Regions from separate parts of the Homo sapiens genome. Here all the other regions are linked to region 2. Evidence: promoter capture Hi-C in human tissues and cell types (Jung and others, 2019). All regions are on one chromosome and are shown on one strand. Each heading gives the region's core, a stretch centred on a gene start or on the middle of the fragment in contact. The rest is flanking DNA. Distances are from core to core; before and after follow the strand shown. Region 1 holds the start of TFRC (transferrin receptor). Region 2 holds the start of SENP5 (SUMO specific peptidase 5). Region 3 holds the start of LINC02012 (long intergenic non-protein coding RNA 2012).

What was found. Contacts are between HindIII fragments. The study calls those that stand out against the background at their distance.
Region 1: a contact is called between the fragment with the promoter of TFRC here and the fragment with the promoter of SENP5 in region 2, in 1 of the 25 tissues and cell types used here (hippocampus).
Region 3: a contact is called between a fragment that was not itself captured here and the fragment with the promoter of SENP5 in region 2, in 1 of the 25 tissues and cell types used here (lymphoblastoid cells).

Annotation. Positions count from the first base shown.
Region 1 is chr3:196,080,729-196,084,681 of GRCh38, forward strand. TFRC (transferrin receptor) reads right to left here and starts at 1,362. Exons shown (of 19, transcript NM_001128148.3): 1 at 1,315-1,362. RefSeq lists an enhancer at 1-113 and silencers at 995-1,294, 1,345-1,684. The HindIII fragment of the contact is 11,516 bases long and covers 1-3,953 here.
Region 2 is chr3:196,866,450-196,870,621 of GRCh38, forward strand. SENP5 (SUMO specific peptidase 5) reads left to right here and starts at 1,471. Exons shown (of 10, transcript NM_152699.5): 1 at 1,471-1,624. RefSeq lists a silencer at 1,248-1,827 and an enhancer at 2,479-2,980. The HindIII fragment of the contact is 4,194 bases long and covers 1-4,159 here.
Region 3 is chr3:197,508,861-197,512,873 of GRCh38, forward strand. BDH1 (3-hydroxybutyrate dehydrogenase 1) reads right to left here. Exons shown (of 8, transcript NM_203314.3): 8 at 923-3,504. The coding sequence ends at 3,035. LINC02012 (long intergenic non-protein coding RNA 2012) reads right to left here and starts at 801. Exons shown (of 1, transcript NR_145451.1): 1 at 1-801. RefSeq lists an enhancer at 2,892-3,429. The HindIII fragment of the contact is 6,420 bases long and covers 1-4,013 here.

The DNA of each region.
Region 1 (3,953 bases), core at 112-2,611, 790 kb before region 2:
AAGGAAATTGAAGGATGCTATGCTATATATAACCTTGCAAAATCGATGACAAAAATTATCTTAACTCTGAGTTTTCTTGAGAAGCATATTGTAACCCAAAATTCAGGGCCGGGGGGCGGGGGGAACCAGCAGGGTCCACAAGTACTCTAGACAGCCTAACCTTAATTTTCACAGTAAGCTTAGCATATAAGCATGGGGTAGCCAAATACAATTTCCTACTTTAATCCTCTTATCAACGGGGAAGAAAATGGAAAAAGCTGCAGAATCCAGTCCCCCGGGTAAGTGAGGTCTCTACAAGCAGTAAGCAGAGGGAAAGCGTTATCCGAAAAGAGCCGAATCAGAATGTATTTTCTTACCCACCCTCCCAACCTTAAAAGAACTGTCCAGCAGAATGTGACACAATCGGCCTCTCCGGCGCCCATCAATCCAGCACAGCCCTCTGACCACACCGCTAATCTCCAAGTATCTTTCACAAATAAGTCACTCCTATGGCTCCCGTCTTGTAGTGAGAACTGCTAGCAATATTCTTAATGTGAACACCTGCGGCGTTCAGTCGGATTCTGCCTTGAGAAAACAGAATCCACACACAAGGCGAACAGGCAGAGCATGGCAAGATCAGGTTGTACCAGAGCCGAAGGGTAAGTTTACAGAAACCCGTATCTAATTAATGCCTGTAACACGCTAGTAACCGAATCGGGGACAGCTTTGTCCCTTTCCGCAGTGAGAACGGGGCCCGCCCGGAGCCCGGGGAACCGAAGGTTTAGGAGCCCAAGGTCACCCACGAATCCCAGCCGTTCCCTGGGGCGACTTCCTGGAGCAGCCACGTGTTCCCCCGGCGCCGCACGCCGCGCAGCTGCACCTTGGCTGCGCCCGCGCTCCCGGACCCGCAGCCCGGAGCCGGCGCACTAGGGCCTGCGGCCTTCAAGGGCGAGGACCCGAAGTCCCCGGGGCTGAGAGCGACAGTGGGGGTACACCTGGTCTCGTCATTCGTCGCTCTGTGACCGAGGAGGCGGGCAAGAAGGCAGAGAGAAGGGAAGGGACGAGAGGCGAAGGGACGAGAGGCGCAGGGACGCCTCTGCGCACAGCCGCCGACCCCGTGTACCTGCAGCCGCTCGAGGCGCCGCCACAGCCCCTTCCCCACAGGCTCGCGGCCCCGCTCCATCCCGGCCGCCCCGCCTGGGGCCGCGACCGCTTTCCCGCTCCCCGTGCGGCTCCCTATGGCTGCTGGACAGCACCGGAGCGGCCGCTCCAGCCAGCCCCGCAGGATGAAGGGAGGACACGAGGGTCGGTGTAGTTCTAGAAGCCCGCACTCACACTAGCGCGTCCTCCGTCCCGAGCCGCCACCCGATATCCCGACGCTCTGAGGGGATGGCGGCCCCTAACCGGCGGTTTATAGCCTGGCCCCGCCCCCGGCCCCCAGGGGGGCTGTGCGTCACTTCCTGAGGCACGTACGCTCGCGAGGTGCTCTGACAGATCGCCCGGGGGGCGGGGATGCGCGCGCAGCGGGCGGGGCCCTATGCGGAGGGCGCTGCGGGCGAGGCGAAGGCCAAGGGAAAAGGCGCCAAGGCAGCAGGTGCCCCGAGGAGCCGCGCGATGGGCGCACTGGCCTCTGCCTCGGCGCCTTCCTCCACCCTGGTAGCCTGGCAGCCTCCGCCTGACCTTGACCAACCTCCAGTCCCTGCAGTGCTAGGTCCAATCTGTTGGCGTTGACGCTTAAATGTTGGATATTGCACTGCGGCAGTGCCTTGAAATGTACGTGCAGGATGGAATGTTAGGTAACTATTAAAGCCACTCTTGTGAAGATGTATTTTGCAGCCTCAGAAATACAAAAAGGAAAAGAAAAGCAAAATGCAAATTTTTATTCAGAATGTATACAAGCTGCACTTTAACCAAGACTAGCGGAGTGCTTTGCGTAATGTTTAATGCATGAGGGAATAAAAGGGAAAATAGAAACAAGTGACTTAATAGGGTGATAGGATTGTAGATTAACTTTCGTTTTCATTGCCATCGCTGTTATTGGATTGTGCAATGAATAACAAATAAATAAAATTCAATTCTTGTCACTGTTTAAACTCTTTCCAAACAATCACACCCTCTCCCTCCCTCTGGTCAGTAACCAGCAGGCCAGGGAGGTAGTAGCTACAATGCAAGAAAGCAACCCATACCTTAAAAAGCATTGCACATAAACTGACCTTCAGGCCCGTAGGGACACAGAACAGCCCTTTAAGAAGCAAATCCGTTTCTGGGCCTTGGGCTTTTACTCTTCCCTTTATTTCTTCTGCTCTAAGATAGAGAAAGTACTTGGGATTCTCACCGCCTTTCTCTTTACTCCCATTCTCTAAAATCTCTCTCCCCAAAGAGAAGTGTTTAAAAGTCATATGAGTTGCCAGGCGCGGTGGCTCACGCCTGCAATCCTAACACTTTGGGAGGCCGAGGTGAGCGGATCACGAGGTCTGGAGTTCGAGACCAGCCTGACCAATATGGTGAAACCCCATCTCTACTAAAAAAATTTCAAAAAAAATTAGCCAGGCATAGTGGCACGCGCCTGTAATCCCAGCTACTCAGGAGGCTGAGGCAGAAGAATCGCTTGAACCCAAGAGGCGGAGGTTGCAGTGAGCCAAGATCGCGCCATTGCACTCCAACCTGGGCGACAGAGCAAGATTCCATCTCAAAAAAAAAAAAAAGTCATATGAGCAGGAGCATTGCTGCACCTTTAATGATCTAATCAGGAAAAGGTTAAGGATGCACATCCACAGAGGGCCTACCTTAACATTCAGACACCAGGCCTGCTCCCCTGTGGTGTTCCTTCTTTATTTCTTTAATTATTAATTTTATTTATTTTTATTATTTTTACTTTTAAGACAGTGTCTTGCTCTGTCACCCTGGCTGGAGTACAGTGGCATGATCTCGGGCTCACTGCAACCTCTGCCTCCGGATTCAAGCGATTCTCCTGCCTCAGCCTCCCAAGTAGCTGGGACTACAGGTGTGTGCCACCATGCCAGGCTAATTTTTGTATTTTGAGGAGTGACGGGATTTTATCATGTTGGCCAGGCTTGTCTCGAATTCCTGACCTCAGGTGATCTGCCCACCTTGGCCTCCTAAAATGTTGGGATAACAGGCATGAGCCACCATGCCCAGCCTATTTATTTTTTATTTTTAATTTGACGCAGGGTTTGCTATGTAGCCCAGACTAGTCTTGAACTCCTGGGCTCAAACAATCCTCCTGCCTCCGGTCTCCCAAAGTGCTGGGATTATAGGCATGAGCTAACATGCCTGGCTTTCTGCCTTTCCTTGACTGAAGTATCTTTTAAAAAGAAACAAACAATGCTGGTATTTGCAGGTGAAAATCTTATAGCCTCATGGAGGACATAGGTTTAGGTGGCCAGATGCGATGGCTAATCCCTGTAATCCCAACACTTTGGGAGACTGAGGCAGGTGGATCTTCTGAGGTCAGGAGTTCAAGACCAGCCTGGCCAGCATGATAAAACCCCATCACAACTAAAAATACAAAATTTAGTCTGGCGTGGTGGCGCACACCTGTAGTCCCAGCTACTCCAGAGGCTGAGGCAGGAGAATCGTTTGAACCCGGGAGGGGGGTGGCTGCAGTGAGCTGAGATCACACCACTGCCCTTCAGCCTGGGCAGCAGAGCAAGACTCTGTCTCAAAAAAAAAAAAAAAAAAGAAAGAAAGAAAGAAAAGAAAAGAAAGAAAAATATGTTTAGGAGACATTTAGAGGCCAGGACCATTTGGACATGAAAATTCAAATCTCAAAAATTTATATTCACTAAAATAAAACCATAAACGTGACACTAAAGAGGCTATCAATTATATTTTTATTTTTATGCTGTTATTAGTATTAATAGACACTGCAATTAAAGTCCACTTATTAACACTTTTACTATTTATTTATTTATTTTTAAACAGTCTTACTCTGTCACCCAGGCTGGAGTGCA
Region 2 (4,172 bases), core at 221-2,720:
GGCTGGGTGCGGTGGCTCACGCCTGTAATCCCAGCACTTTGGGGGGCTGAGGCGGGCAGATCACGAGGTCAGGAGATCGAGATTATCCTGGCTAACTTGGTGAAACCCGGTCTCTACTAAAGAAATACAAAAAAAATTAGCCAAGCGTGGTGGTGGACGCCTGTAGTCCCAGCTACTCAGGAGGCTGAGGCAGGAGAATGGCGTGAACCCGGGAGGCAGAGCTTGCAGTGAGCCGAGATGGCGCCACTGCACTGCAGCCTGGGCGACAGAGCGACACTCCTCTAAAAAAAAAAAAAAAATCACTGACAAAGAGAAACTGTTAAAAAGAAGTGAGAGGGCCTGGTGTGGTGGTTCACGCCTGTAATTCGAGCACTGTGGGAGGCCCAGGTGGGAGGATCACTTGAGCTCAGGGGTTCAAGACCAGCCTGGGCAACATAGGGAGATGTCATCGCTACAAAAATAATGATAGTAATAGTAATAAAAAATTAGCCGGGCGTGGTGCAGGAGCCTGTGGTCGCAGGTACCCTGGAAGATGAGGTGGGAGGATCGCTTGAGCCCAGGAGGCAGAGGTTACAGCGAGCCTAGGGTGTGCCACGGCACTCCGGCTTGGGCGAGACAGCAAGACCCTGTTTGGAAAAAAAAAAAAAAGAAAAGAAAAAAGAAAAAAAAATCAACAGTAATTGCAGCCATTGCTTAGAACTAAGACTAAACAAAGCTTTTGTTTGGAAAGGAGTACTTTTTCATTAACATTGTTTAGAATTTTCTGACACATGATGATAATTAAAAGCAAACCATCCTGCAGTTGGCTTCGGTATTGTTTTTATCTTCTCCACCATCAATGCATATCCTTACTGCCTACACAGGCTCTCAGCAACGCACTGTTGGTTTTCCATTGCAGTCACCTCCACTTTATTCTTCCAGATCGAGTATGTTCAAAACTGAACTCATCTTCCGCCATAAATCTGCTATTATTATGTTTTTGCCTGTCAGGACATCGGCTTATAATTTTGGAAAGCATTCACAGTTGGGGCGGGTAAGACATAGATAAAGAGGCCAATCACAATACCAGGGGTAAGATCAATAGGAAAACCAGAGAGCGGACGCCTGGGCCAGGCCTCACAACGTCCAGAGCTGGAATGGGTCTTTTGCTTTCGGCGCAGGGGTGACGGGATCAGCGGAGGGTAGGGGTGTACACTAGCTGCGGTCTGATTTAGCCCTTTTAGGTTAAAAGCTGGAGAAGGGGCTGAAGTCTCAAACGCGCTTAGCAGCTCCTGAACGCGGTTCCCATCCCAGCGCGTTCTGAGGGAGGCCGGGGCTAAGGACGCGGTGACGGGCGGGGGCGGGGCGGCCCCGGGTCGGGAGGCGGGGCGGGAGCGCCGGAAGCGGGCGGTGCCAGGCCCAGCCTCGCAGGCGGAAGGGCGCGGAGGAGGTGACGCGATAGGCCAGCGCCGGCGTCGCGGCAGCCGCTTCAGAGGAAGCTCGGCGGCTGTGGCCGCGGCGAACAGGCCGGACGCCTCGTCGCTGGCGGGGCTTCCCTTGGAGCTGACGAAGGCGGGGTCCGCGGTCCAGGCTGCTGCCGCGACGGGGCCGGCGGCGGGGCAGCTGCCAGGAACGAGGGTAGCAGGTAAGCGGGGACGCGGGCAGACGAGTGACGGACTCAGCGATCGCCTGGCGGGGCTGGCTGGGGCCATTCCCGCGCCGGTGCGCCACCTCAGCGCCCGGTCCGGAGGCCTCGAGCCGCCCTCCCCCGCCCGAGCTGGAGGCCGCCGTCCGTCTCGGCCACAGCCTCCCTTTCCGGGGGAGGCGAGCGAGCTCGTCCCGAGGGGCCGCTGCCCTGCGCTCTCGCTCCAGCCGGGCTGTGCGTCGCAGGCACCGGGAAGCTGGCGCCCCCCAGCTCCTCCTGAAGCCGGGAAAGCTCTGAGAGGAGGAGCCGCTGTCACAGGCCTCCAGCTCCGGCCGCCGTGGAAGTCCGGGGTTTTTATTTGCTTAGACCGCTCTGCCTCCTTCCGGCCTTCGTTTCTTTCCTCGCGCTCCCCGGGACCCTTTTCCAGAGAGCCCGGTTGGGCATGAGCGCGGTGGGAGACGTCTTTTCCCTTCGGTCTGCTCTGAGCGGTATCAGCCTCCGCTCTACGCCCTGTGGCCACTCTGTCGGGGTGGAGGGATGCGGAGAGGATGTGGGAGTTTTGGACTTAGAGCGAGAATAGCCGAGGTGAAATCCTACCCTGCTCTCTGGTAGTGTTTTTCATCTCATGCTAGATAGACATTTCGACCTTTTTCACCGCAGGTAAAGTGGGACTTTCTTCTACCAATGTAAATTATAATGTTTGGAGAATTAAATGAAGAAAGCAGACGTTAGTTATGAAATGTTTTGAGAATCTGGTTAAATTTAATTTAAGAATATCCAGGACACTTCATGATAGGTTCCTACTTATGTTTTTTTTTTGCATTTTGCCCGGAATAACTAAGCTTGGTATGGAAAAGGTTGCCTAGAGATGCCAGGCGCTCGTGTGGTCAGAGCCTAACTGCAGTCTCTGTTTTGGGTGGGCAGCATCAGGAAGAAACCAGACTCTCTCCTAGCCATCCACATGTCTCACGCTTATTGATGGCATATTATTGGTATATGAGGGATGGCTTATATCAGTTTTGATCTTTACTCAAGATAGCTTTTTCCCAGTGCATCTTTTCTAGGAGAAAAGCTTGGTATGTAGAGGAGGGTGCTGGGGAGGGGGGCTTCATTTACACCTGGGCTCACAATTTTTTTTTGGAGGGGGGACAGGGTCTCACTCTGACACCCAGCCTGGAGTGCAGTGGCGCGATCTTTTCAGCTCACTGCAACCTCCTCCTCCCAGGTTCAAGCGATTCTCCTGCCTCAGCCTCCAGAGTAGCTGGGATTACAGGTGCCCGCCATCGCGCCCGGCTAATTTTTGTATTTTTAGTAGACATGGGGTTTCACCATGTTGGCCAGGCTGGTCTCGACCTCCTGACCTCAAGTGATCTACCTGCTTCCGCCTCTCAAAAGTGCTGGGATCAGCCGGGCGCGGTGGTTGACGCCTGTAATCCCAGCACTTTGGGAGGCCGAGGCGGGCAGATCACCTGAGGTCGGGAGTTCGAGATCAGCCTAACCAACATGGTGAAACCCCATCTCTACTAAAAATACAAAATTAGCCAGGCGTGGTGGCGCATGCCTGTAATCCCAGCTACTCGGAAGGCTGAGGCAGGAGACTAGCTTGAACCCGGGAGGCGAGGTTGTGGTGAGCTGAGATAGTGCCATTACACTCCAGCCTGGGCAACAAGAGCAAAACTCCGTCTCAAAAAAAAAAAAAAAAAAAAAAAAAGGTGCTGGGATTACAGGAGTGAGTCACTGCGCCTGGGCTATATTACTTTCTAAATCAGCCTTTTTTTTTTTTTTTGGTAGGCCATTATGTGAATCCTTCAAAAATCATAGAAAAATTGAAATTTAACAATATTTTGCTTTTATTCTAGCTTGTCATAAACCCAGTGCTCTATACACAGGCCTGCCTTTCTGCCTCCTTCATCCTGGCATGCATGGCCATTTACTTTGTGTTATTAGCCAGCTTCCTATGGAGCTCAGTTTGAGAACGGGGTTCTGTGCTTCTCTAGTTGCCAAACATCTGATTGAAGTAGATCACCTTGGCATTTGCGATATTAAGCATGTCTTTGCGAATTTTTAGTTCCTTTTTCTTTTCTTGGTTAGATTGTACTCTGTCACTGATTTAAAGAATTTGGTAGACGCTCAGAAAGGGTCAACTGGTAAGGTGGTCACAGTGCTTTACATGTATTTTTCTTACCTATTATGGTGAAACCCTTGTGACTTTTTTTGGGCGTGGGTAATATTTTCAAAATTAAGGTAAATAGGCCATCAGGCTGCGTTGAACTTTCTCTTTTAGGGAAATATATTCATTCTCCAATTATTCTTTGGTAGCCTTCTTATTGCTTTAGCAATTCCTACTCTATTATTAGTAGAGCCGGAAATGGACCCTACATCACAGATTCTCCAAATATACTAAATTATTTTTTCTCTAAAATGATCATGTTTATAGCATGTTGATTTTCTTTTTTTTTCTTTTGAGACAGAGTTTCACTCTTGTGCAGGCTGGAGGGCAACAGCTTGATCTCTGCTCACTGCAACTTCCGCCTCCCGGGTTCAAGTG
Region 3 (4,013 bases), core at 86-2,585, 640 kb after region 2:
CACAGGCAAAGGCCTCCTTCCTACTTACTCTGACAAGAAGGAGCGGCTCTCTGCCAGCAGACAAGCAGTGAGGGTCTAGGTGCCTGGTGACCCCAACTGGCTTTGCTTCCAGGGCTGTTGCGAGCCACAGTGTTATGTGATAGTGAAGAGTGCCACTCAGGAGACTTTTGTTCTGGCCCTGGTCCTGCCGTGGATTTACTGTGACACTGAGTGAGTCACTTTCCTTCTTTGGGCCTCAGTTATGTCATCTATAAAATGGGAATATACACCTGTTTTGTCCTCTCACTCTTTTTTTGTTTTGTTGTTGTTGTTTTGTTTTTTGAGACAGAGCCTCACTCTGTTGCCCAGGCTGGAGTGCAGTGGCATGATCTCGGCTCACTACAACCTCTGCCTCTGGGTTCAGTCGATTCTCCCTGCCTCACCCTCCCGAGTAGCTGGGGTTACAGGCGCCCACCACCACGCCTGGCTAATTTTTGTGCTTTTAGTAGAGACAGGGTTTCACCACGTTGGCCAGGCTGGTCTTGAACTCCTGACCTCAGGCGATCCGACCGCCTGGGCCTCCCAAAATGCTGGGATGACAGGTGTGAGCCACCGCGCCCGGCCACGCACTCTGGTAAAGACGAAAACTACGTCCTGCGCCCCGGTAGGTTCTAAGCTGCCGGAAAGTGAATGGTGAATATGAGGTTTGAGTTAGCACTGGAGTTATTTGGAGGGATGGTAGCCTGGGCTTTTCAATCACTGGAAACGATTAAAAGCCAGAACAACCTGCACAGGCCGGCCCAGCAGTTCTAGCTTACTCAGAAGATCCCAGTAGACGCACATGCAGCTTCTCTGACGTTCGGGTCTGCTGATGGGGACCCAGAGTATGTGGCCCTCCTTCCTCTAGTTCCCAGGCAGGGACGCACACGTGCAACTCCAAGGCTCCATCTATTTTCCTTTAATAAACTTCAGCACGGACACAAATTCGCCCAACATGTAAAAGTGCAATTCCGAAAGGATCCTGCTAGAACAAGGTCCACGGTACAAAAGCATCCTATGGTTATGTAACTGCAGCGGCCACCAAGCGTCCCCCTCTGGGCTCTGGAGGGTTTCGGCCCTGCCTGCCTCCCCCCCTCCTCCTGGGGCAGCTGGGACAGGGGACCCCTGTTTGAAGACAGCGGGGACAACGGCCCGGGAGGCAGCTGAATTGCCCATTGTGAGGCCCTTCTTCCTTGGCACTGCCTGAACCCCGTAGCCCACTCCGGCTGCCCGGGCTCTTCTGCCTTCTCCTGGCACCAGCCTCCGGGCCCGGGCCAGCTGCTAGGAGAGCGAGAACACTGTTTCTGAAGGGTGCTGCTTGCTTCTTTGTTCCCGGTTTCCGAAGCGCGAATCCCGAACGCCGTGAGAAACCTCAGGCTCGGGCGGCAGCGCGGGAGTCTGGGGCGCTGGAGGCCGGCGCCGGCTGCGGAGGAGGAGCGCCCTCTAGCGGCAGGTCCGCCCAGGGAGAGGCGGAAACGCGGAGTCTGATTCGAAGGCGGGCACTGGGGACCCTGCCCCGGGCCGAAAGCCCCCTGGAGGACAGTGGTGTTTGGCTTCGGTCCCAACATACAGGCCCTGGGCAGTCGCAGGGATGGCAGCTTTCAAACTGAAACCCAAGAAGTGATCATGCAGACCCTGCCTCAAGTGGCATCACTTCTTAATTGAAAAGAGGCCGAGGCGAGGCGGGAATGAAGGCCACGCTGAAGCCCTGCAGAACAGGGGTGTGTGTGTGTGTGTGTGTGTGTGTGTGTGTGTGTGTGTGTGTGTGTGTGTGTGTGTGTGTGTGTGTGTGTACATGTGTGTAAGGTGTGTGTGTGTGTGTGTGTGTGTGTGTGTGTGTACATGTGTGTAAGCACCACGTGAGGCAAGCAGGGACCCCAAATCCACTGCTAGGGGAGATGCCACAGTGCCCTGCCATGGCACCACTGCTCGTGCCAAGCCTGCCCCATCGACACCGGCCCCACCCAAGGCAAAACCAAGCAGACCCAAACCAGTAACAACTTATCCCCTTAGCCAGAGAGCACCTCCACACAAGTCTATCCTGAGTCCTAAAAGAGGATGGAAAAATCTCAAGTAAAAATCTCATGCCTGTAATCCCAGCACTTTGGGAGGCCAAGGCAGGCGGATCACTTGAAGTCGGGAGTTCGGGACCAGCCTAGCCAACATGGTGAAACCCCATCTCTACTAAAAATACAAAAATTAGCCCGGCATGGTGGTGGGTGCCTATAACCCCAGCTACTTGGAAGGCTGAGGCAGGAGAACCGCTTGAACCAGGGAGGCGGAGGTTGCAGTGAGCGGAGATGGTGCCATTGCACTCCAGCCTAGGGGACTGAGCAAGACTGTGTCTGGAAAAACAAAAATCTCCAGAAACATTCCCACCCCCTCCATACAGCCAGCTCTGAGTCACTGGCTGCTGGCTGGCCAGTCACACAGCACCATGGACATGCAGAGGTACCAGTGGGCACTTGGTGTGTGCTGCCCAGATGAGGACACAGAGTTAGTCAGAAGATTCTCGGGCAAATGGATCCAAAACAGTCCTGGAATGCAAATGTGAAGTATTTCCACAGCCGTGGCAGGAACACATAACTGGCACTATTTATAAGCGATAAAAGGGTTATTTCATGCATCCTCTTTAAGCTGCAAATGCTTCATTTACAAAAGAAAAAAACCTGTCCTTTTCATTCATGAGACTGGCTTAAGGATCAAATGAGATCTGTTTTTAATATAAAGATGTTTTCTTAAAATCTCTGTATGAAATTATCTCCGGAGAGATAGATTCACCATGTTTGCCCTGAGATTTAGAGGCCTCTGCCTGCCACTCCACACCCTGTTTGTGAAGGCCCAAGTCACTCACTATGCAAAGAAGTCATTCCCTCTAGTTAGTGTTAAAACCAGTTATGGGTCTTCCTGGCATGGTGGATAATCCACACGTGGATAATCAAGAGTTGACTATATGGGTTCCTCCCTCCCCTCCCCTTCCACCAGGGATCCCTGACAGAGGCCACAGCGAGACTCTTCAGCGGATGTAGATCATGTCGGAGATGGCTCCAGGCAAGTGGGTCATGATCTGCATTCGCAGCCACCAGTAGTAGTCCATGGGGTGGTAGCGGGTGTAGGGGGTGGTGGCGGTCAGGGCGTGTGTGACAGCATCGATGACAGGGGACGTGTCTGTGGAGCCACTGCTGCAGTAGGTCTCCATCTTGGCGATCTTTTCATCAAAGTACTTCTTGCCGTAGTCCTTGCGCACGACCTCAGGCAGCTCCTCCCACATCTTCTTGGCGATGGCCTGAATGCTCTCAGGGCTGTAAAGGCTGGTGGCAGCGATGAAGTTGCCGGGCTCCACCACGCTGACCTTCACGCCCAGGGGGTACATCTCATAGCGCAGGCAGTCCGAGAAAGCCTCTACCCCGAACTTGGTGATGCAGTACGGGGAGCGGGCCGGGTTGGCCATGCGGCCCAGCATGCTGCTGATATTGACGACGCGGCCTACAGAGGGAGACAGAGGTACCTGCTAAGCCGTTACTGCCCTATGACACAGCGGGCAGAAGTCTGGCATGTCTCTAGAGGCTTGGCTGGAACCACTTCTGAGCCACCCAGGAGCCTTCTCAGTCAATAGGCAAGGCCAGCTCAGGCCCACGCATCAGCATCGGCACCCCTGGTCTTCCCTGGGAACCTGGCTGTGCCAGGCAGGACAGGGGAGGACAAGTGAGTGAGAAGCAGCAGGGCACAGTGTAATGGGCAACACGCAACTGACTCAAAAACCAGATCAAGCCCGATGCGGTGATAATTTGGGGTGAAAACACGAGGGGAGAAGTGGGAGGCGAGACAGCTGTCTGTGTGGATCTGAGCTTTCACTATAGGCAAGGTCTGGTGCTGGTGAGGGAGAAATACAGCCTGAAAGCTTCCCCTTCCCCTTATGGAGCTTAAAGTCCAGCTCCAGTAGTACGACGTGCAGATAAGTAGCACACTAGGGCCAAGTGTCTAGCCACTGACAG